Regions from separate parts of the Homo sapiens genome. Here regions 2, 3, 4, 5, 6 and 7 are each linked to region 1. Evidence: promoter capture Hi-C in 16 types of primary human blood cells and fetal thymus (Javierre and others, 2016). All regions are on one chromosome and are shown on one strand. Each heading gives the region's core, a stretch centred on a gene start or on the middle of the fragment in contact. The rest is flanking DNA. Distances are from core to core; before and after follow the strand shown.

Region 1 (2,979 bases), core at 185-2,684:
TTAAAATAATCCCTTTCAAAGATTCCCAACACGCAGCTTTTTAAAGTCAATTCCAACAGAAACATTTACTTAGGACAGTCACACTTCAGTCACACTTCGGGAGGCACAGAATCACCTGGGGGAGCTAGTTAAAATACAACTGGTCCCACCCCCACAGTTTCTGATTCGTTAAGTCTGGACTGAAGCCCCGTAATTTGCATAATTTGTAAGTTCTCAGGTGATGCTGAAGCTCCAGGTCCTGGGCAACGCTTTGAGAACAGCTGATTTTGGAATATTTACATTTTACAAGTCATCACAACCTAAAACAGCTGTTGCTCCATCCCAGTGGTAGCTCTTAATCCCTACTTTTTAGTAAGAGGTCTGTGATTCTTAAGTACCGGTAGGGAAGAAGAAATAAGCTGGAGTTTGGGATCATTAAAATTTTGAAGTGTGGGGGTAACGCTGGAAAGACGTCAAGGCTAATTAGGAAGAACAGGAGACGGAGAAAAGAAAGAAGTCTTACACATTTTAGCATTCATAAGAAATTTCTCCAACACATCTTACTTTGATGTGTCTTAGATAAAGCAGTATCACCATGAAAACTGCCTATTCTTCCCAGAGCACTCTCCCAACAGCACTGCCCAGCGCTCCGCAAAACTCGGCCAATCGGTGTCAAAACAGTCCTGCCAACCCGACAGGAGGAGGCGGTGGGCAGCGTGCTCCACAGCAACACCTAAAAAGGGCTGGGTTTGGAAAAAAGCTGAACTCAGATTTGAACTGTAAGTAAAATTCCCACCTGCTCCCCAAGTCCGCGCACTTAAGGAAAATAAATCACACCCTGAAAACACTAGCACAGGTTGCAAAAACTGCTTCTTGCGGACCAAGTAGGCAGAACAAACTGCCCTGGAGAAGGGAGACGACACGAAAAGGTGCAAAGGTGGCCAACAGGTGCGCGAGCTGTTCGGCAAAGATCCTGGGAGCCCTGCTCCACTGGACCGGGGGGCAGCGGGGTCGGAGAGCGGGACCAGCCGTGAGGCGTCAGCCCCAGCCCGGTGGGGGTGAGGACGAGGGGCGCCGGGGAGAGGGAGCCCGGCCAGCCGGCAGGGGCGCCCCTTCGGCGGAAGAGGGTCGCCGAAGACCCTCTCCTCACCTGGTTGAGCTCGTTCTCGGCTGCAATCCGCAACTTCGGGTCGATGGTGCCCTTCAGCGCCTGGATGATCCGGTTGAGGTCCATCTCCCCGGGTGGGGGCTCCGCGGCCCCCGGAACAGTAGGCCGGACTGCAGCTTTAGTTTTCTTTTGACCCTCTCAGCCTCCTCTTCCGCGACCCCTGGATTACCTCACACCCCACCCCCCGCCACCGTCGCCACCTGCGGCCACTTGCTGCGCCACTCTGACTCCGCGCCCCCTGTCCTCCCTTTTTCCCCCCCACAACTCGCTCTCCATTCACCGTTTTACGACAGCCGGTGGGAGGCGGGAGAAGGAAGAAGAGGAAGCAGAGCTTCCTTTACGGCGGCCTCTTCCCCCGGGCGTGATGCTATGACCGCCTCCCGTCGGCGGCCGCCATGCTGCTGTACGGAAAACGGCCTAGGCTTCTTTCCCGGAAAGGAACCCGCGCTCCCGAACTCAGGCAGGCGGCCGCTATGCTTCCGTACGGTAAACAGCCTCCCGCCTCTTCCCAGGTGAGGAAACTTGAGCTGGCCGGGAGTCTGCTTACAGCTGCTTCCAAATTAAGCATATCTGGATGGTGTGACACTTTTTGTTAGTCCGAGAACTGTATGGGCATCGCAACTGGGCCTGTTCCAAGATAGACTTGTTGGGACCTTCAAATCATGTACCTTACAGGAGGACAGGGTTCCTCCGTGTGTGGGAGTCATCGTTCATTCATTCATTCGCTTTCACTGAACATTTGTTAAACATATATTTTTGAACCAGAGTACTAGGATTTTTAGGTACCACATTATAACAAGATGAATTCCATGCAAGTTAATGTGAAGGAATTCACAACCTGATAGATGAGACAAATATAAACAAAAAAAATTTACAGTGTAGAAATGATAGGGGAGTGCTGGGAAGGGAAGAGCGTGGTCCCTTTAAATGATAGGGATGGGCGAAGTGAAGTGCTGGGTAGAGGAGTGTGTGGTCCCTTGCTAGGGCTCCACGCCCACCGACCTAGGTGAGGACTGACACTCCTGCCTTCCAGCCCAAATGTTGCATTTCCCAAGACCACCCTGGCCTGCCACTCCCCCATACTGTGCCTATGAAAACCCCAGACCCTAGCAGGCAGGTACACAGGCAGCCAGACGTCCAGAGGAGCATAAGGGTGGAAGAAGAGGAGCTCGCTGGCACATCCGCAGGCCATTCACGGGCAGAACGATGCGGAGGTTGGCCTGGGCAGTCGGAAAAGAGCCCGGGCCGCCAAGCGGCCTAACTCCAGAGGAAAACCATTTCCCTTCTGGGTCCCTCATCTGCTGAGGGCTACTTCCACTCAATAAAACTTTGCACTCATTCTCCAAGCCCACGTGTGATCCAATTCTTCTGGTACACCAAGGCAAGAACCCAGGATACAGAAAGCTCGCTGTCTGTGCGACAAGGTAGAGGGTCTAATTGAGCTGGTTAACACAAGCCCCCTAAAGGCAAACTGAAAGAGCATCCTGTAACACACACCCACTGGGGCTTCAGGAGCTGTAAACATTCACCCCCAGACTCTGTCAAGGGGTCGGAGCCCCACAGCCTGCCGGTCTGTATGCTTCTCTAGAGGTCTGAGCAGCGGGGCACTGAAGAAGCGAGCCACACCCCCAATGCACGCCCTGTGAGGGGGACAAGGGAACCTCTCCCATTTCAGAAAGACAAAGGTCACAGAAACTGAAAACTACATCCCTGAGAGTTTTATGAAAAATTTTCAGACCTTCTCAAAAATGTAGTGAAAGGTAAGCAGAAAAGTTATACTGTTTCTATCCACTGTGGCCATATCTGGCGCCACAATTTCAATGGCATGAAAA
Region 2 (2,979 bases), core at 206-2,705, 2.0 Mb after region 1:
GAGGAAAAAAAAAAGCTTTCTTAAACGGGAAAGAGAATCAGACTGGCATTAGATTCCAATCTGTCACAGTAAATGTTACTGCATGGAGAAATGTTTAATAGAGTTCTTAGGGAAATTGTGATTATAAAATTCTGTATTCATTCATACTATAACCATTTTCTCTTTTTTTCTTTTTGGGTGGTGATATATATTTTAATTATTTAAAATTTTGCTCATTCCATTCTATAGAATAAGATTTACATTTAAGCAAAATTAATTAAAATCTAAGCAGAGAGATCAAGTTAAGCACAGGCTCCAGGAAGTCCTGCTGGGATCTCAGGAATAGCGACAACATGTTAAAAGTTTTAGTTTGAATGTCTGGAATTTGTTTGTTTGTTTGTTTGTTTTGGTGCATTCTAGAGTCTCCAAGAGTCAGTCACCATGAGTACCCGTGAGGTAGATGATACTTATTTTAACAGCACCTAAACTGGGGTTTAGGAGCTATATTTTCCAAGAAGTGACTCAGTCTAATTCTGAAATGACAAAAGCAGTTCATATCATTTTATTCACACTTGAACTCCACTGGAGTCAGGGATGAAATGTCATCTTCTATTCCAAGAATGAAGTCTTCAGATAATGTCCAGGTGCTTCAGAACTAACTAGTCATCATAAGAACACAGAGTCCATAATTTCTCCAATGTATAGTTTTTTGTGGTTTCTAGAAGCATCAAATGAATCACAGTGCTACCAAACTCCACACAGAACTAGTCACAGTGTCCTTCCTATCCATCTTAACATTAGGCTCATTTTTACATTTCAGGTATTTGTACATTTTCATAGTATAATAGGGATATATCAGGTGGAAGTTCCACTCACTATCAGTCACAAAGTAGCTGTAATCTGTATATATGTTTTTACACAGTCATGTGAAATTTATTTATATACACACATATAATCCCAGTTTGTTCACTTATACTGCTATATAATGGTCCATTATAGGAATATATCCTGTTGAAATTTGTGTGTTCCCCAGTGTTTGCTATAGCTGTTTTTGTAAACAGTGGTACTGCGGATATTCATATAAATGTCTCATGTTTGAGAATTTCTCTAACGAATCAAGGAGTGGAATTGCCAGACTGTAGGGTATATTTATTGGATATTGCTATTGCTTCTCAGGATGGCTGTAATTTACATTCCCATCAACAGAGTGAAGTTTATTTATATCTGTACTTTCTATAGTCACATTTTAAATTTATGGTACCTCATTGTGGTTTCTATTGCATCCTCCTGATTACTAGTGAGTGTGAGCATCTTATCATGTTTCTTGGCTCTTTGAGGTTTTGTTTTGTGAGTTTTTGTTGATATCTCTGCACATTATTTTGTTAGGTATTTTTAAGAATTTGATTTGTGGGAGTTATTTATACATTTTGGTTACCAGTTACTTATGGATCACAAATGTTTTCCCTGAATTTTTTCTGTGAGGAAAAGAAGTTTTAATTTTATTGTGGTTGAATTATCTTTTCTTCTGTGGTTTTGTACATTTTGTATATTGTTTAAGAAGTCATTCTCCTTTATTTTGTTTTTTAACAGCTTTACTGAGATACACTCTATACCATAACATACCCATTTACAATGTGTAATTCAGTGTTTTTTTTAGCATATTTATAGAGTCGCACAACCATCACCTTAAACTTTTCTTTTTTCTTTTCTTTTTAAGACAGGGTCTCACTCTCTTGCCCAGGCTGGAGTGCAGTGGCATGACCATGGCTCACTGCAGCCTCAATCCCCTGGGCTCAAGTGATCCATCTGTCTAAGCCTCCCGAGCAGCTGGTACTACAGGCATGTGCAACCTTGCCTGGCTAATTTTTTTATTTTTTGTAAAGATGAGGTTTCACCATGTTGCCCAGGATGGTCTTGAACTCCTTGGCCTCAAGTGATCTGCCTACCTTGGCCTCCCACATTGCTGGGGTTACAGGCATGTGCCACCTCGCCTGGCCTTTCCATCACCTTTAAACTAATTTTAGAATATACCATCATTCTAGAAAGAAACCTGGTATCCATTAGTAGTCACTCCCCATTCTTCTTCACTCTGTCCCTAAACAGCCACATAATCTACTTTCTAGCTATAGATTTGCCTATTTTGGACATTTCTCTTTTTTTGAGATGGAGTCTCGCCCTGTTGCCCAGGCTGGAGTGCAGTGGCACAGTCTTGGCTCACTACAACCTCCGCCTCCTGGGTTCAAGCAGTTCTGCTGCCTCAGCCTATCCTGAGTAGCTGGGACTACAGGTGCGTGCCACCTTGCCCGTGTAATTTTTGTATTTTTAGTTGAGATGGGGTTTCACCATGTTGGCCAGGTTGGTCTCGAACTCCTGACCTTGTGATCCGCCTGCCTTGGCCTCCCAAAGTGCTGGGATTACAGGCGTGAGCCACCGCGCCCGGCCATATTTTGGACATTTCATATAAACAGGGTCAAATAATATGTGGTCTTTTGTGACTGACTAACTTTAACTTAGCAGAATAATGTTTTTAGATTCATCCATGTTGGAGCGTGCATCGGTACCTTATTCCTTTTTATGACTGAAGTATAAAATAACTTTTATAAGACTAAACATTAGTCTTGATACCTCTAGTGGATTAAATATCCATATTAGGGATCCTGGGAAGATGACAGCAGTGGTAGAATAGTTTCCTAAATATCTATATGACTTTCCCCTAAAACAGAACAAATAGGATAGGAAAACCAAAAACACATAGAAAATGTGTACAAGAAAATTAGTTGACTATGTTTCTCTACAAACGCTCAAATACCAGCAGATTGGGAACAAACCATTGTTATCCATACTGGAAGAAGCAGAAGGAAGCAGTGGAACTTCTGATGGAGCGGAGAATTGTAAATAACCCAAAGGCAATCACTGGAAAGCTTTTTAAAGGGCCGATTTTAGAATACCAGCTGAAATGGGAATTTGGGAAGGGTATTGCACACATCGATAATGGGTGAG
Region 3 (2,979 bases), core at 174-2,673, 2.0 Mb after region 1:
GTGAGCTGAGATTGTGCCACTGCACTCCAGCCTGGGCTACAGAGCGAGACTTGATCTCAAAAATAAATATATAAATATAAATAAAATAACTCTATTATCTCAAATAGTTTCTAAAATATGCCACAAATTTTGATGGTAGGAGGATAAAAAGAAGGGCTACGTTCTATTGGGGTGTGGGTGTGGAGCAAAGGGAAGAAATCAGGACCATATCTTAACTCCCAAGTTATTTTGTCGTTAACTGCTCTTAATTGTGTTGTCACACTGCCCTCTCATGGTCCCGTCAGTATCTCACCAGATTCAATTTCTGGCTTCTGAACCATCTGGCCAATTCCACCATCTGCAAACAATTTCCTGCACCTGCTAACAAAGTATGTGTTAAGCTTGAGGCCTGGGGAGTAGCAAATTGATTAAAGCTGTTTACTTTATCATCTTTGCAAAACACGGGCAGTTTCCAAAATATGACAAAGAGGCTTCCCCAACAGAGCTGTATATTTTATATTAACATTAGATCCCCACTAACCGCTATGATTTGAAGGTGCAGATACCGGCATCTTGGCTGTGATTGATGATCAAAATGTTGGCATAAAATGATATTGGACACATGCGATAAAAACAGTCTGACCTTTTCCAAGATCGATTAATTTCCAGTTATTAATTTAATCCAAAATAAACTTCCTCTAATTCGGGATTTTAAGTTAGAACAAAGCCAGGCTACTCCCTAGCTAAGTAACTTGGCATCTATTCTAATGAGGAGTCCTATGCCAAGCCAGACTCATATGTGTTGGTGAGATTTGATTGCCAGTCCTGGTTGCAATTATATCAATTCAGAGCTGCTTAAATCCTTGTTATTCCAGATTTTCCAAATAAAAAAGAAAAGAAAACCCCATATCCAGTAGACTAATATTATGTAACACGCTTCATACGAGGTAGTGGGGGAACCCAGCTAAATAAGATAATCACTTCTGCCCTTCGTGAGCTCACTATTGGTGAAGGGGGAGGGCATGTTAGTGCCATATCCACGGTTCCTCCCTACTCTCCAGCAAAATATACTGCCTGGCTAAGATCCGTATGCCTAACAAGTACTTCATCAATATGTGTTGAATTAATGAAGAAAGGAATAAATACACGAGGCAGAATGTGTAGCGGTTGAGAGTTTGCTGCCGGGCATGGTGGCTCACACCTGTAATCCCAGCACTTTGGGAGTCCGAGGCGGGTGGATCACCTGAGGTCAGGAGTTTAAGACCAGCCTGACCAATATGGTGAAACCCAGTCTCTACTAAAAATACAAAAATTAGCCTGGCGAGGCGGTGTGCGCTTGTAGTTCCAGCTACTGGGGAGGCTGAGACAGGAGAATTGCTTGAACCTGGGAGGCAGAGGTTGCAGTGAGTTGAGATCGCACCACTGTGGCGACAGAGTAAGACTGTTTCAAAAAAAAGAAAAAAAAGGGGGTTTGCCAAAAAGCCCCTTTTCATCCCATCTCTGCCACATACTAGCTGTGTAAATTTACCACTTCACTTCAATCCCTGGAGCCTCCGTTTCTACATCTCTAAACCTACTTCACGAGGCTCTGATAAAATGCTTAGTATAGTGCCTCACATACAATAAGCACTTAAATAATAGTTCAATAATATTGTGTGAAAAGGGCAACAAGGAAAAATGGAGAAATTCATATGGTTAACTATGGGGATTAGAATTCTGATGTTATGTGCTGTACAGCACATGTACATTTAAAAATATGGGAAAGTTGGCCAGGCGCAGTGGCTCATGCCTGTAATCCCAGCACTTTGGGAGGCTGAGGCGGGCAGATCACGAGGTCAGGAGATCAAGACCATCCTGGCTAACATGGTGAAACCCCATCGCTACTAAAAATACAAAAAATTAGCCGGGTGTGGCGGTGGGCGCCTGTAGTCCCAGTTATTCGGGAGGCTGAGGTAGGAGAATGGCGTGAACCCAGGAGGCGGAGCTTGCAGTGAGCTGAGATTGCACCACTGCACTCCAGCCTGGGTGATAGAGCAAGACTCTGTCTCAAAAAAAAAAAAAAATATATATATATATGTATATATATGGGTAAGTTACTGAATTTGGGGAAGTTCTTCAAGGTGAATAAAGAAGTTTATTCTTGCAAACCAATTTATTCCATGAGATAGGAAACATGATCTTTGGAGACATTGACTCACATGCTTACAGTTCTATAACCAGAGAGAGAAAATATTTTTGTTCAAATTCAGGTTAGGAAATTCTCAGAGAAGGATTCTAAATGGTCCTGCAGGTCCATCCCTAGACCAATCACCTTAACCAGGTGCAGTAGGCCCCTCCAATAAGTCCATGTCCTAATCCCTGGAGCCTGTGAACTTTATGTCTCAGGAGAGACTCTGTAGATGTGATTAAGGGTACAGGCCTTGAGACAGGGATATTATCCTGGGTTGTCCAGGTTGGCCAATCTAATGATGGGCCCTTAAACACAGAGAAGCTTTTCTGGGGGTCAGAGGCCTGATGACAGCAGAAGAGTTAAAGAGATGCGACATTGCTGGCTTTGAAGAGGTTGGAAGGAGGTAACCAGCAAGGAATGCAGGGGGCCCCTAACAAAGGCAAGGAGGTGAATTCCCTGCTAGAGGCTTTAGGAGGGTTTGCAGCCCTGGTGACACCTTGATTTTAGTCCAGTGAGACCTGTGTGAGACTACTGAACTATAGAACTGTAAAACAATACTTTTTTTTTTTTTTTGACATGGAGTCTCACTGTGTTGCCCAGGCTGGAGTGCAGTGGCGTGATCTTGGCTCACTGCAAGCTCTGCCTCCCAGGTTCACGCCATTCTCCTGCCTCGGCCTCCCGGGTAGCTGGGACTACAGGTACCCGCCACCACGCCCGGTTAATTTTTTGTATTTTTACTAGAGACAGGGCTTCACCATGTTAGCCAGGATGGTCTCAATCTCCTGAACTCGTGATCCGCCCGCCTCGGCCTCCCAAAGTGCTGGGATTAC
Region 4 (2,979 bases), core at 229-2,728, 1.6 Mb before region 1:
GCCATTCTAATAGTTATATAGTGGCATCTCGTTGTTGTTTTAATTTAAATCCCTACTGACATATGATACTGAGCATTTTCTCATTTGCCATTTGATATCTTCTTTGATTGTCTGTTGAGATATTTTGCTTATTTTTAATTGGGTTGTTTGCTTTCTTACCTTTGAGTTTTAAGAATTCTTTGCATATTTTGAATACCAGTTCTTCTAGATGTGTATTTTTCAAAGGTTTTCCCCCAGTCTGTGGCTTGCTTTATTCTCTTAACATTATCTATGTAAAGCAGTTTTTAATTTAAAAAATCTAGTATACTAATTTCTTCTTTAATGGATTGTGTTTTTCATGCAGTATCTAAGAATTCATGGCCAAACCGTAGTTAATCTACCTGTTTTTCTGCTGTCTGCTGGGAGTTTTATAGTTTGGTGTTTGGCACTTCATTAAAAAAAATAGTGTTTTCTACTATATTTGTCGTGATATCCAAAAATTCCCCACAAAAAATAAAAAGTCTTTTCTGACTAGTTATTTTCTACTTCTTCTATGGATTTAAATCGTTTTAGTCTACTAGCTTATAAAAATGAGTATTTTCCCTTGAAACAATTTTTATGTGCTTTTGGCTAAATGCATAGTTTACAAATAGACTGCAGATGAGCTAAAGATAAAGAGAACTGTTATCTTCATAATAATAATAGAAGTGCTTCCTGGTAAAATTTGCCCTGTAATCGTAGTCATCTTTAGAATGACTAAGGGATTGATTCTATCAAGAAGCCTATAATTGCTCAGGTCTCATCTTCAAGGTTAGGACAGACCACTAGGTTGGGTAGAAGAATATAGAGTAGTAAAGTGGAGGGGGTTTTTAAATGTTGTTTTAAACTCCCATATTTTGAAACATTTGCAAATAAATCAATTTTTAAATATAAAACAAACAAATAAAATTACAAAATTTAAATACATCAAAATGATAGAAAAAGAAAACTACTAAATACGTTAAAAATAGGTTGAATACAATGAAACTCACACCTGTACTTCATTCCATTGTCATCAGCCAGTCAAGGAAAGATACTGTGAGATCTTATGAAGCCAGCCAAAAAGAACTGCGGTTTTATTCATCAACTCTGGGCAGTGAAGCCTTTCAAGTACTGATAGGATCTGTAGCTACTGACTACATCAAATATTTTTTATCATCAGTTAACACACTGCAGAAATAATGATACCTACTTTGCATTTTCCCTATGTGTAACTTAACACAAGGTCATGAAAACTATACAACTTTGCATTTTGGAAACCAGGGTACATGTCAACAAGGGCAGGATTTCTTTTGCAGAAAACAACTAAGTTCCCTTTGCTGTTTTCATTTTGATAGGTTTTTTTCCTGAGTCCTTGCTGGAATAAAAACGATCATTTTTTTACAGTATTAGATTGGAATGAGTGGTTATATTTTTCAGAAATTTCATTGATATTTCTTACTACATTTCTTTATTTTGCTGTTTATTATGTGATGATAGTGGTTAATATTTATCAAGGGCTATATAATACCAAGCACTGTGCTATGCAATTTGCATTGATCATCTTGTTAATTTTCATACTAACTGATAAGACAGCTTTATTTTTATTCCCATTCTACACATGAAGGAAGACTCTACACATGAGTCTTGGACTTTAATGATTTGCCTGGAGTAACACAGGCAAATTCAAACCCAGGCCCTCTGGCTTCAAACCCCATGCCTTACGCTGTCTCATTGCAATATTTTCTTATGAGTGTTATGAAATTGAAACTGAAACTCAGTGATTATCACCAATATCTCCAAATTTCTAACCGGTTTCTTGCTTTCAGGGTTGTTCCTCTCAAGTTTATCCCATGCACAGCTACCACTGCGGTTTATCGAAAATGAAACCTACTCATGTCATTTCCTGCCTCACACATTTCGAGGCTTCTCCATGTTCTACAGAATAAGATCTAAGATCCTTAGCACAGCATCCAAGAGCCTCTCTGTGCAGGCCCCTGCTTCACATCCCTCAGTTCCCCCTTCCCACATTTACATTGTCACCATAGGGAACATCTTGTGCCTCCTCACACACACTCCACAGTCTTTTACCTTGTTTCTGAATCACACAAGCTATTGTTTTCTGCATGCATGGTTCTTCCCCACACTACACCAAAGCCTCTTTCCATCAGGGAAACATTTCCTATTTGTCTCCAAGAATCCTTCTCTTACCAAACATTCCCTTGCCCTCTACACTTCATTGGTTGATGCTTTCCCCTCTGCACTAGCAGAATATCCCCTAGAATTTTATTTATGACACTATATTACAGTAATAATACTAATGTCAGCATCTCCCACTAGACTATGGGTTCTTCAAAGGCAGGATAGACCTCACTCACTTTTAACTATGTATAGATCTTGGATGATGAAGAAAGAAGGCCAGTGCTGAGAGCTAGGAGAATGATCGAGTTATTAGCCCTACCTTTGGATGGTTCTCCATTACCATGTATCACTTTAGGTGCTTTTGGTTTGCTACCAAGAAAACCAAGGAGTAGAAAGAGGGAAGCGCAGTGGCTCCACTTCTCACCTGAGCCTAGTTTGAGGTCTGCAATTCCTGAGACATTACCAAGGTTCTTTTGTGTTTTCAGCTCCTGAACAGTTTGCTGTAGGTGGGACAGATCCTAAAAGAATCGTGTTAAGTGTATTAATGTTCCATCTAGTCTCAAAATAGAACCAGGAGTTAGGAAACATGTTGATCGAGGCAGTGAATCAGTGTTACTAAAAACCTTCAATTGCATCATGACTTTTTAAGAAAAATGTGAATTGAAAATGCCCATGTTTTATTTCACACCCATGGCTTTGCTCATAGTTGCCAAGACATAGATCTCAATACAACAGGCTTCCTGTTTCAATTCGAAGTAGTCTGGTAAAGAACAAAACAGTCATGTCTTGTAAGATACAGAATTATTTCTCCCTCCAATTATTTTTACAATGAAGTGTGAT
Region 5 (2,979 bases), core at 346-2,845, 1.6 Mb before region 1:
TAACTTTCCTTGATCTGAAGTCTGCTTTATCTGAAGTTAATAAAGCTAATACCCTTTCTTTTGATTAGTGTTTGCATGGTATATATTTCTCCATCCCTTTGACTTATATATGTCTTTATATTTAAAATGGATTGTCTATACAACATATATTTGGGTTTTTGTTTGATCTGCTCTGGTAATCTCTTTTAATTGATACTTTTAGACCATTGATGTTTAAGATTATTATTAATATAGCTGCATATTGATATATCATATTTGTTACTGTTTTATACTTGTTACCCTTGTGCTTTGTTCCTATTTTTGTCTTCTATACTTTTTCTGCCTTTTTTGGTTTTAATCGAGCATTTTATATGATTCTATTTTCTCTCCCTTATTAGTATATCAATTATACCTCCTGTGAAATAATAAATGTATATATTGGTCTGTTTACTGTCCCTGGCACAGAGCTCCAAAAACCCTTGTAATTTCCTGAGCAATAGAGATGCTAGGATAATTTTTTTTTCTAATGTTTGGTCTCTGCCCAATTCCTGAGATAGAGTTTCTAATATGTACGTAGGGGTGCTAGGATAATTTTTTGTTCTAATATTTGGTATTTGATCTTGTTTCCTGACATAAAGCTCCTAAAACTTCTATAATATCCTGAGTAATCGAAGCATAGGACACAGAGCTCCTAAATTCTTTTGAAATTCTTGGGTGACAGGAGCATCTTTTGTTTTAATGAGGTAACTCTTGGTGTGCTCCTGGATGGGTGCTGGTCACTAGGAAGACCAAACCATGATTAGCTTAGAGCTTTCAGCTTCATTCTCCATACCCCAGAAAGGAGAGAGAGGCCAGACATGGAATTAAAAATCAATCATGCCTACATGATAAAACCCCTATAAAAATCCCTGAACTATGAGGTTCAGAGAGCTTCTGGGTTGTCAAACACATCTATGAGCTGGAGGGTGATGCATCCCAACTGCATGGAGACAGGAGCTCCCTCCTGCATTGGGGCCCTTCCAGATCTCTCGCTATGCATCCCTTCATCTGGCTGTTCATCTGTGTCCTTGATTAAATCCTTTATTAGTAAAACCAGTAAACATAAATAAAGTGAAAGTGTTTCCCCTAGTTCTATGAGCTTCCCTAACAAATTAATTGAACCAGAGGAGGGTGTCCTGGGAACTCCCAATTTATAGCCAGTCAGTGAGAAGTAGAGGTGACAACCTACTGTTAGCATCTAGGAGTGGGAGGCAGTATGCGGCACAGAAACTTTATGGGCTATGACTCTAACTCCAGGGAGATCATGTCAGAATTTAATTGAATTATAGGACACCCAGTTGGTGTCTGCTGGAGAGTTGCTTGGTGTATGGGGAATATCCCCCTCACATCTGGTATTAGAAGGTTTGTGCTCAGTGTGTGAACACAGAAAATGCACTAGGTTTTTTCCTATCTTTATATTCCCTTTTTAACTTTTTTTGGTGATTGCCCTAGAGTCTACAACATATGCTTACAACTAATCCAAATCCACTTTCAAATATCACTATACTATTTCACAGGTAGTGTAAGTACCTTATAATAACAAAATATTCTCAATTCCTCTCTCCCATCCCTTATATCTTTGCTGTCATTTGTTTCATGTATACAGAAGCACACGCAAGCATATATATGCATATAAATTGAATACATGATTGCTATTATTTTAAACAAATTGTTATCTGTTAGATCAGTTAAGACTAGGAAAATGAAAGGTTTTGTTTTATTTTCACTTATTCATTCACCGATGCTCTTCCTTTCTTCATGTGGATGTGAGTTTCTGATCCATATCATTTTCCTTCTCTCTGAAGAACTTCTTTTAACATTCCCCTCAAGGCAGTTCTACTGGCAACAAATCCCTCATTTTTTTATTTGTCTGAGAAAGTCTTCGTTTTTCCTTCTTTTTTAGAAGGATTATATCACAGGGCACAGGATGTGAAGTTGGTGTGTCTTTTCTTTCAGCGCTTTAAGTAAGAGAGGATTTTTTCCTTAATATTTACTAGGAGGATATGAAAAGAGGTCCTTAAGGTAGAACTCACAAAATTGTGTTTCTGGGGGTGTCTTCTCCCTGGAGCTTTTAGCTCTTACACTTGTCAATACCAAGCCTCCAGCAATTCATCATTTATGGTTTAGGTTTTCCTACCCTGACACTGGTTCCCACACAGGTTTCTGCTCTGGTAAGTTGTGATTCTCTTATCTGCCCATCTGTCTCTCCAATTTTGAGGGTAGCAGTTTGCCCTGTGACCTCACTTCTCTGACATATCTAAGAAAAGTGATTGATTTTTCAGTTTGTTCAGCTATATACTGGTTAGGATGAAGTGGTGCCTCCCAACATACTTTTTAATTAAAATTTTTAAATATAATTTTGCATATGTGCATAAATACAACTAGATGATACCTCGAATTGTGTTTCAGTCTTTTTCTTTGTTCTTCCTTGCCTGGTAGTCCTCTCTCACTCCCCCACCCCCATGCATTAGTGCCTCTTTTCCAACAACCAAAATAATGTTAATAATCAAGTATGTATCCTTCTGATTTTCTGTATGCTTTTATAGACCTATATTTCTTTTTTTTTTTTTTTTTTTCAGACGGAGTCTCGCTCTGTCGCCCAGGCTGGAGGGCAGTGGCGCGATCTCGGCTCACTGCAAGCTCCACCTCCCAAGTTCACGCCATTCTCCTGCCTCAGCCTCCCAAGTAGCTGGGACTACAGGCGCCCACCACCAAGCCCGGCTAATTTTTTTGTATTTTTAGTAGAGATGGGGTTTCACCGTGTTAGCCAGGATGGTCTCGATCTCCTGACCTCGTGATCCACCCGTCTCGGCCTCCCAAAGTGCTGGGATAGACCTATATTTCTCTCTATATATAAACATATTGAAAGTTTTTTGACAATGGTTTAAAGGCAACAAGGTCATATTATAAATGTCTTTCATATTGTTACTTTCTTCGCAAGCTAAACCTCATGGAAATTAG
Region 6 (2,979 bases), core at 349-2,848, 1.4 Mb before region 1:
CATGAAGCAATGCGTTTTTGAGAGCTAATCCTGATATATTCAAATCTCAATGACTTAAGTTTATGGAGTGGACTTCTTTTAAATTAGTGATTCCCTGATTTGCCCGACTGTTGGAATTTCCAGGGCATGTTGAAAATACAGATTATCAGACTCTTAACTCTGCAGATGTATTTAGTGATTCTAAAATGGTACCCAGGAATCTGGATTTTTCCCAGGGGCCCTGTGTAATTCATATTTATGAGCAGGCAAGTTTGGGAAAGACTACCTTAAGGAGGTTTTTCACTGAGCAGTCTTCATTTGAAATGAGGATCATTTATCTTCTTTATCTCTATGCTCCCTCTTTCTCCTGCTCTCCTTGCCTCCTGTTGTCTTTCAGTTCTTAGAAGCTTTAATGGAAAGTTCCTAGTAGATCTGTACCTACTAAAAACCATGCTTCTGAGGCTACACAGTCACCAGAAGACACAGCTAAGCTGCCATGTGAAAAAGGAAAGGTGGCGTGTGCACTGAGGGTGCAGGTGTGAGAGGCAGGGGAATGGAGGCCCCCACAGCCAGCAGCAGTGGCCCTTATCACAGTCCTCTGGGAGATATGAAAGGAGGTCAGATGTTAGAAAGTAGTCTTTTTTGCCTTCGTGCTATAGAACACATTGTTAACACTAAAAAAGCTGACCTCTTCTAGGGGAACGGTGAAAGCTGATTCTAGCACTTGTGCTTTTAATTTCAGGATGGCACAGCTTCAAAATGACATCTATGTAGCTAAGTAAAAATGAGAATTCTGTGTACTTTGATATTAGCAGGCTTTAAATTACAAACCAGAATAAGATTAAATTGTTTCTTAACCAAACTGAGTAATTTTCAAATGGCAGGCCATTGGCAGGGTATTCAGCATCTGGCTCATGTTTGAGCCTGGCTAGGTGCTCCGTAAAAGTCTTGAGGGAAATACAGAGGCCAATTCTCCATAAGCATTAGGCTCAGAAATACCCTGCTTCCCACTGGAAAGTTTAAGTTGACCTTGAAGCCACCTTCACCAAAACGAGGTTGGTCAACACTTTTCACCATTGCCACTGGACACTTTACTTCCAATTTTGCTTCCTGCTCTAAAAGATAACCCCTTCCTTCCTTTCCCACATTCTCCCTACAACCTCGTCTTCTTTTGAGTTCATCCACTTTCTCTCATCATTGTCCATCTCTGCTTCCCAAAACCTTACATAGTATAGAAATTGGCCAATCAAGATTATCATGTGGAAGAACATGCATTTACTGAATAAGGCAGCTGGCTCCTGGGGGCAGAAAGGTGATTAGACACAGTGATAAAAATCATAATCCCTGATCTTCTGGACTCACTGTCTGTCCAGTGGGGAGACAGACACATAAGCAAATACAACTTGATAACTACAACAATCAAGAGAATGACATAATCTACCCTGGAGAAAGAGAGAGCAAACATTATCATAAGACAGTGTGTCCACTACTTACTCTCTAACAGATTTCCTGATAAACTACTAGGCTTGCCCACTTGTTGCATAAGAAAATTGAGGGTATCAGGGGAGGGGAAATACATATGCCTCTTGGTAATTCATTCAGTAAATACATAAATAAACCATTAATGATATAATCATGTTGATTCAATAAGTTTGAAACCAAAATTGATAATATTTAGAAGAAATTGTGTATGTGTGTATATGTGAACACACATAGACATATACATACTGCTTTCTGAAATTTTCAATGACTTTATGCTTCTTCTGAAGCAATTCAAGTTTAGAATTTGAGACCCATGGGTTCAAAACATCTTCTTGAGTATACTGGAGGACATTTAGATTAATTTCAGACATGTATTTTGGTTTATATGTGTTTTTTATCTATGCTAACTTATTTACTGTTTTAAAAACAAATTGAGAACAAACAGCAGCAGCAACCCTGAATTGAGTGTTTAAGTCCTAAGAATGGCTTGGCCCAACCAGTGGATGTGCATGTTTATTACACTAATCTCCTCTGAACCTAGGAAGTGGCTGGATGAGCTTCAGATGGTCTGTTTGGCTGTATTATAAGTGATATTTTATTTTTATTTGTTTTATTTGTTTATTTTTATTTTTATTTATTTTATTTTTTTGAGACAGGGTCTCTGTCACCCAAGCTGGAGTATGGTGGCACAATTATGGCTCATTGGAGCCTCCAACTCCCAAGCTCAAGCAATCCTCCTGCCTCAGCCTCCTGAGTAGCTGGAACTGCAGGTGCACACCACCATGCCCCATTAATTTTTTTACATTTTTTTTGTAGAGGCAGGGTGTTATTATGTTGCCCAGGCTGGTCTCAAACTCCTGGACTCAAACGATCCTCCTTCCTCAGCCTCCCAAAGTGCTGAGATTACAGGTTTGAGTCACCGCACTTGGCCAGAAATGACACTTTAAAACTAACTATTACCTACAAAGATGCATGCTCACTGGTTGTTTTATTAAAAAATAACAATGCCTTAGGTTTATTGGCTCATTTTGTTTTATCAAAGAGCTTAAATGCAGTTGTGAATATTCCTGTTTACCCTTATGATAATTTAGAATGAGTATAATTATTGCCATTTTCACAAGTACAATTGGAACTAGGTAATTTATATTCCTGTTTACTCTTATGAGAATTTAGAATCAGTATAATTATTGCCATTTTCACAAGTACAATTGGAATGAAAAGATAAAACAGTGGAATACAGGTGTAGCTGAGAGTAGCAGAGGCAAGTCATCTATAGAATATTAAAATTTCTTGCATGCGTGCTGTCAGAAATCTACGAAACCAAAATTTTCTAAGACAAGCAAACTCACCAAGCTTTATAAGGCCCCTATCCCCCCAAATATTATCCTTTCCATGTACCCCAACATTAATGACAGCAACTGGTACTAGCCATGTGACATACAATCCCTGCACATTATTGGGCTCTGATGTTTCCTAGGTTTTTTTTTTTTTACAGCTTTATTGAAATTAAGCTTTATT
Region 7 (2,979 bases), core at 182-2,681, 1.4 Mb before region 1:
CATATTCATGTAAAGCTTATATACAGACTAAATAGAATAAATTGTTGTGTAACAAAAAAGAAACACTTTTGGTGTTCAAAATTAATATTTAAATTAATTTGACCTAAATTCTATAATTCATTAATAGCAAGTATTTATTGAATGTCTACTTTGTGCCATTCAAAGGAACATCATTCTTGTTGTTCTAGGAATATCATTTATTTGAATTAAGCCATTTTAGCTATTAAAGTCCTTCCTAGTGAGGCCTCACCAGAAGTTAAGTAAGTTAAGAGTAACGAGCAACTTTCTTTCACTGTACGTGAAACTCTCCACTAAAGATAGGCTTTTTTTTTTTTTTAATGTCCAGGGATGAATAGACAAAAAGTGATCTGAGAGTGCTGTATGTCCAAGGAGAGAGAAGAGTGCCCAATTGGAAGGACAAAAGCACCTTAAACACACCCTCCACTTGCTAAGATTTATAAATATTAGACTTTTTAAATGCTAGCACAAGTCCATTTTCCAGGCCATTCTCTCCAAATACATGAAATAAAACTCTATTGAACCAAATCCACTCACTGATGCAATCTTTTATTTGATAACAGGGTCATACCAAACTCTCCAAGAATACCTAATACTTGAAATATTTCCAGAGATGATACCAGAATCTTCTTGACACTCTTTCTACTAACAAGTTTTAGTGCCCTAAGTTCTTTATATTCAATCAAAACTATTTTTTCTAATATATTTGAAGATCATTTCCCTCCCTTTCTTTCTCCAATTAGGCCCTTTATATGGAGATTTTGAAAAGATCCCTGGATGGCTCAAGAATGACCTATCAGGTTTCTCTTCCTAACTCATCCTATCTCCATTTGTAATCCATATAAATCTGGGCCACCTCCTGATCCTGTGTCAGCTCAGCATCATTTTCAAAGTACACAAAAAATAAAATCTATGGAATGCAATTCAAATCTTTACTCCAGCTTTTCCATAACAAACCAAAAAAAGAATACATTTTTGGTTATGCAAGTGTTTTTCTTTTCTCTTCCTCAAAGATACCTTAAAAATTTTTTAATCATTTTTCTTTATTGTCACTCTCTGTATCTGTCTTCTATGTGGCACAACTTCTCTCCCTAAACAGATCAATCTCTTCCTTCTCCTTCTTCCCTACTCCTCCCCCATGTTGTGATCACTCCTTTTTTCTTTCACTACCAATCACTCTCTTCTTAAATATAAATTCTGGTAACTTATTCCTTAAGGCTTTGCTTCCCAAAGTTTAATCTGCATAATGAAATGGTAATGCTGTAGGAAAGGATGGTAGAACAAAGGGATAACACCAAAATTTAAGAGGAAAGGGAAAGTTGCATCATTTATGTTTTGGTCACTAACATATTATTCTATCACTTTTAAAAATAATTACTCCTCGGTTAGCTGAAATATATACCAAGCCAACCATAAGTTTTCACCAGACTATGTAATACTATTTCCTTTAAATCTCCCTCACAAGAAATGTGAAGTGTTTGTGTTTGATCCATGTTTAAATATTCCTATGTAAATAGTAATCCATATTATCAGTACCTTTGAAATAATGACTCAAATAATCTCTCCTTTGGAGAGGGTCCAACCTATGTCTCCCAAATTGAAGGTCACTCGTCTATGTAGAAGAAACCTCAAGTGGACAAAGTGACTGTCCAGCACTGCAATTCTGGCAATCTATAATCTCTCTTGCCTCTCAGGTATTCAACTTTGACGTGCGCCAGTTGAACTGGTTGGAATACATTGAAAATTATGTTTTGGGAGTTAAAAAATACTTATTGAAAGAGGATATGGCTGGGATCCCAAAAGCAAAGCAACGCTTAAAAAGGTAAGTATAATCAGTCAGTTAATATTTATTGAGCACCTACTGTGCATCGACTTTATACCAGACATAACATTTGTGCAGAGGAGAATGAACATTTCTTGAGCATTTACTACATTACAGGTCCTGCACTCCATACTCTACCCTGTAACACAGTTTCATTTAGACTTCACCACACCTCTATGAGGCAAGTATTACTTTTGTTACCCCATTTTTATGAGGCAGATATCTAGATTTAAACACAGCAAATAACTTGCCCATGGTAATTGCATAGTAAGTCTAAGAGCCAGATTTGAACCCAAATTTGTTTCTTCTACCACACTCTGTCATAATGGGATATAAATACCCAACAGGCAGGAGACCTGATTATGCTATTTAACCTAGAAAAAAGTCACTCCTCAATTTTTTCAACTTTCTTAAATTTCTTTCAGTCGTAATCCCTGAGGGACAAGGAATTCTAGCACTCTGGTATAATCCTGGTAGAAGCAGAGGATCTGTAGTGCAGAGATGATAAGGATAAAAAAGTAGCTTGCAAAACAGGAAGGAGGAACCTTGAATAGCAAGCCAAGAACTTTAGAATTTACCTTCTAATGAACAAGAACCAGTGAAGATTTATGATGTGGTAACATGACCAAAGTATATTTACAAGATTATGCTAGTCATGCTTGTAAATAGTTTCAAGTGGAGAGAGGTATAAGAGAAATTAGGGAAATATGGTAGAAATCTGACTATTCAGCAAGAATGCTGTGGAAATGAAAGACGCAGAAACCAATTGGCCAAGTTATATCAAATACTCTGAGCACTTCATAAATACTTGCCAGTCATATCCAGGAAAACACATATTTATCTTCAGATAATGTGGTTGGGTATCTGGTAGTTTTAACTTTGGTTATGTCTGTCTGTTCCCTAGGCTCCGAAATATTCACTACCTCTTTAATACTGCCCTCTTCCTTATCGCCTGGCGCCTTCTCATTGCAAGATCTCAGATGGCTCGGAATGTCTGGTTCTTCATTGTAAGCTTCTGTTATAAATTCCTCTCCTACTTTAGAGCATCCAGCACGCTCAAAGTTTAAGAGCATTTAGCCATCGCTTTTTATCTGGAACCTCTCAGATACCTCTAAAACAGCAAACTGTGATTCTCAAGA

The links. Contacts are between HindIII fragments. The CHiCAGO score rates a contact against its expected background, and 5 or more counts as called.
Region 2: a contact is called between a fragment that was not itself captured here and the fragment with the promoter of IPO8 in region 1, in 1 of 17 cell types (activated CD4 T cells). The highest score is 7.2, in activated CD4 T cells.
Region 3: a contact is called between a fragment that was not itself captured here and the fragment with the promoter of IPO8 in region 1, in 4 of 17 cell types (non-activated CD4 T cells, total B cells, activated CD4 T cells and 1 more). The highest score is 9.0, in non-activated CD4 T cells.
Region 4: a contact is called between a fragment that was not itself captured here and the fragment with the promoter of IPO8 in region 1, in 6 of 17 cell types (activated CD4 T cells, non-activated CD4 T cells, naive CD8 T cells and 3 more). The highest score is 12.6, in activated CD4 T cells.
Region 5: a fragment that was not itself captured here is called in contact with the fragment with the promoter of IPO8 in region 1 in 1 of 17 cell types (neutrophils); the score reaches 6.0 in neutrophils.
Region 6: a contact is called between a fragment that was not itself captured here and the fragment with the promoter of IPO8 in region 1, in 1 of 17 cell types (total B cells). The highest score is 5.1, in total B cells.
Region 7: a contact is called between a fragment that was not itself captured here and the fragment with the promoter of IPO8 in region 1, in 8 of 17 cell types (neutrophils, non-activated CD4 T cells, naive CD8 T cells and 5 more). The highest score is 12.4, in neutrophils.

What each region holds. Positions count from the first base shown.
Region 1 is chr12:30,694,435-30,697,413 of GRCh38, forward strand. It overlaps IPO8 (importin 8), which reads right to left and starts at 1,435. Exons shown (of 25, transcript NM_006390.4): 1 at 1,130-1,435. The coding sequence starts at 1,213. RefSeq lists a silencer at 1,185-1,234 and an enhancer at 1,325-1,824. The HindIII fragment of the contact is 4,530 bases long and covers 1-2,979 here.
Region 2 is chr12:32,691,963-32,694,941 of GRCh38, forward strand. The region is part of intron 1 of DNM1L (dynamin 1 like); the gene reads left to right. Among named protein-coding and RNA genes, the nearest start is that of DNM1L, 14 kb to the left of the region's middle. The HindIII fragment of the contact is 2,885 bases long and covers 14-2,898 here.
Region 3 is chr12:32,671,828-32,674,806 of GRCh38, forward strand. No RefSeq gene overlaps it. Among named protein-coding and RNA genes, the nearest start is that of DNM1L, 6.0 kb to the right of the region's middle. RefSeq lists an enhancer at 2,367-2,979. The HindIII fragment of the contact is 2,090 bases long and covers 379-2,468 here.
Region 4 is chr12:29,101,836-29,104,814 of GRCh38, forward strand. No RefSeq gene overlaps it. Among named protein-coding and RNA genes, the nearest start is that of FAR2, 46 kb to the right of the region's middle. The HindIII fragment of the contact is 3,674 bases long and covers 1-2,979 here.
Region 5 is chr12:29,127,936-29,130,914 of GRCh38, forward strand. No RefSeq gene overlaps it. Among named protein-coding and RNA genes, the nearest start is that of FAR2, 20 kb to the right of the region's middle. The HindIII fragment of the contact is 5,194 bases long and covers 1-2,979 here.
Region 6 is chr12:29,303,046-29,306,024 of GRCh38, forward strand. All of the region lies in intron 4 of FAR2 (fatty acyl-CoA reductase 2), which reads left to right. All of the region lies in intron 3 of FAR2-AS1 (FAR2 antisense RNA 1), which reads right to left. Among named protein-coding and RNA genes, the nearest start is that of FAR2-AS1, 13 kb to the right of the region's middle. The HindIII fragment of the contact is 2,428 bases long and covers 385-2,812 here.
Region 7 is chr12:29,330,888-29,333,866 of GRCh38, forward strand. It overlaps FAR2 (fatty acyl-CoA reductase 2), which reads left to right. Exons shown (of 12, transcript NM_001271783.2): 11 at 1,713-1,840; 12 at 2,745-2,979. The coding sequence ends at 2,907. Among named protein-coding and RNA genes, the nearest start is that of FAR2-AS1, 15 kb to the left of the region's middle. The HindIII fragment of the contact is 2,837 bases long and covers 14-2,850 here.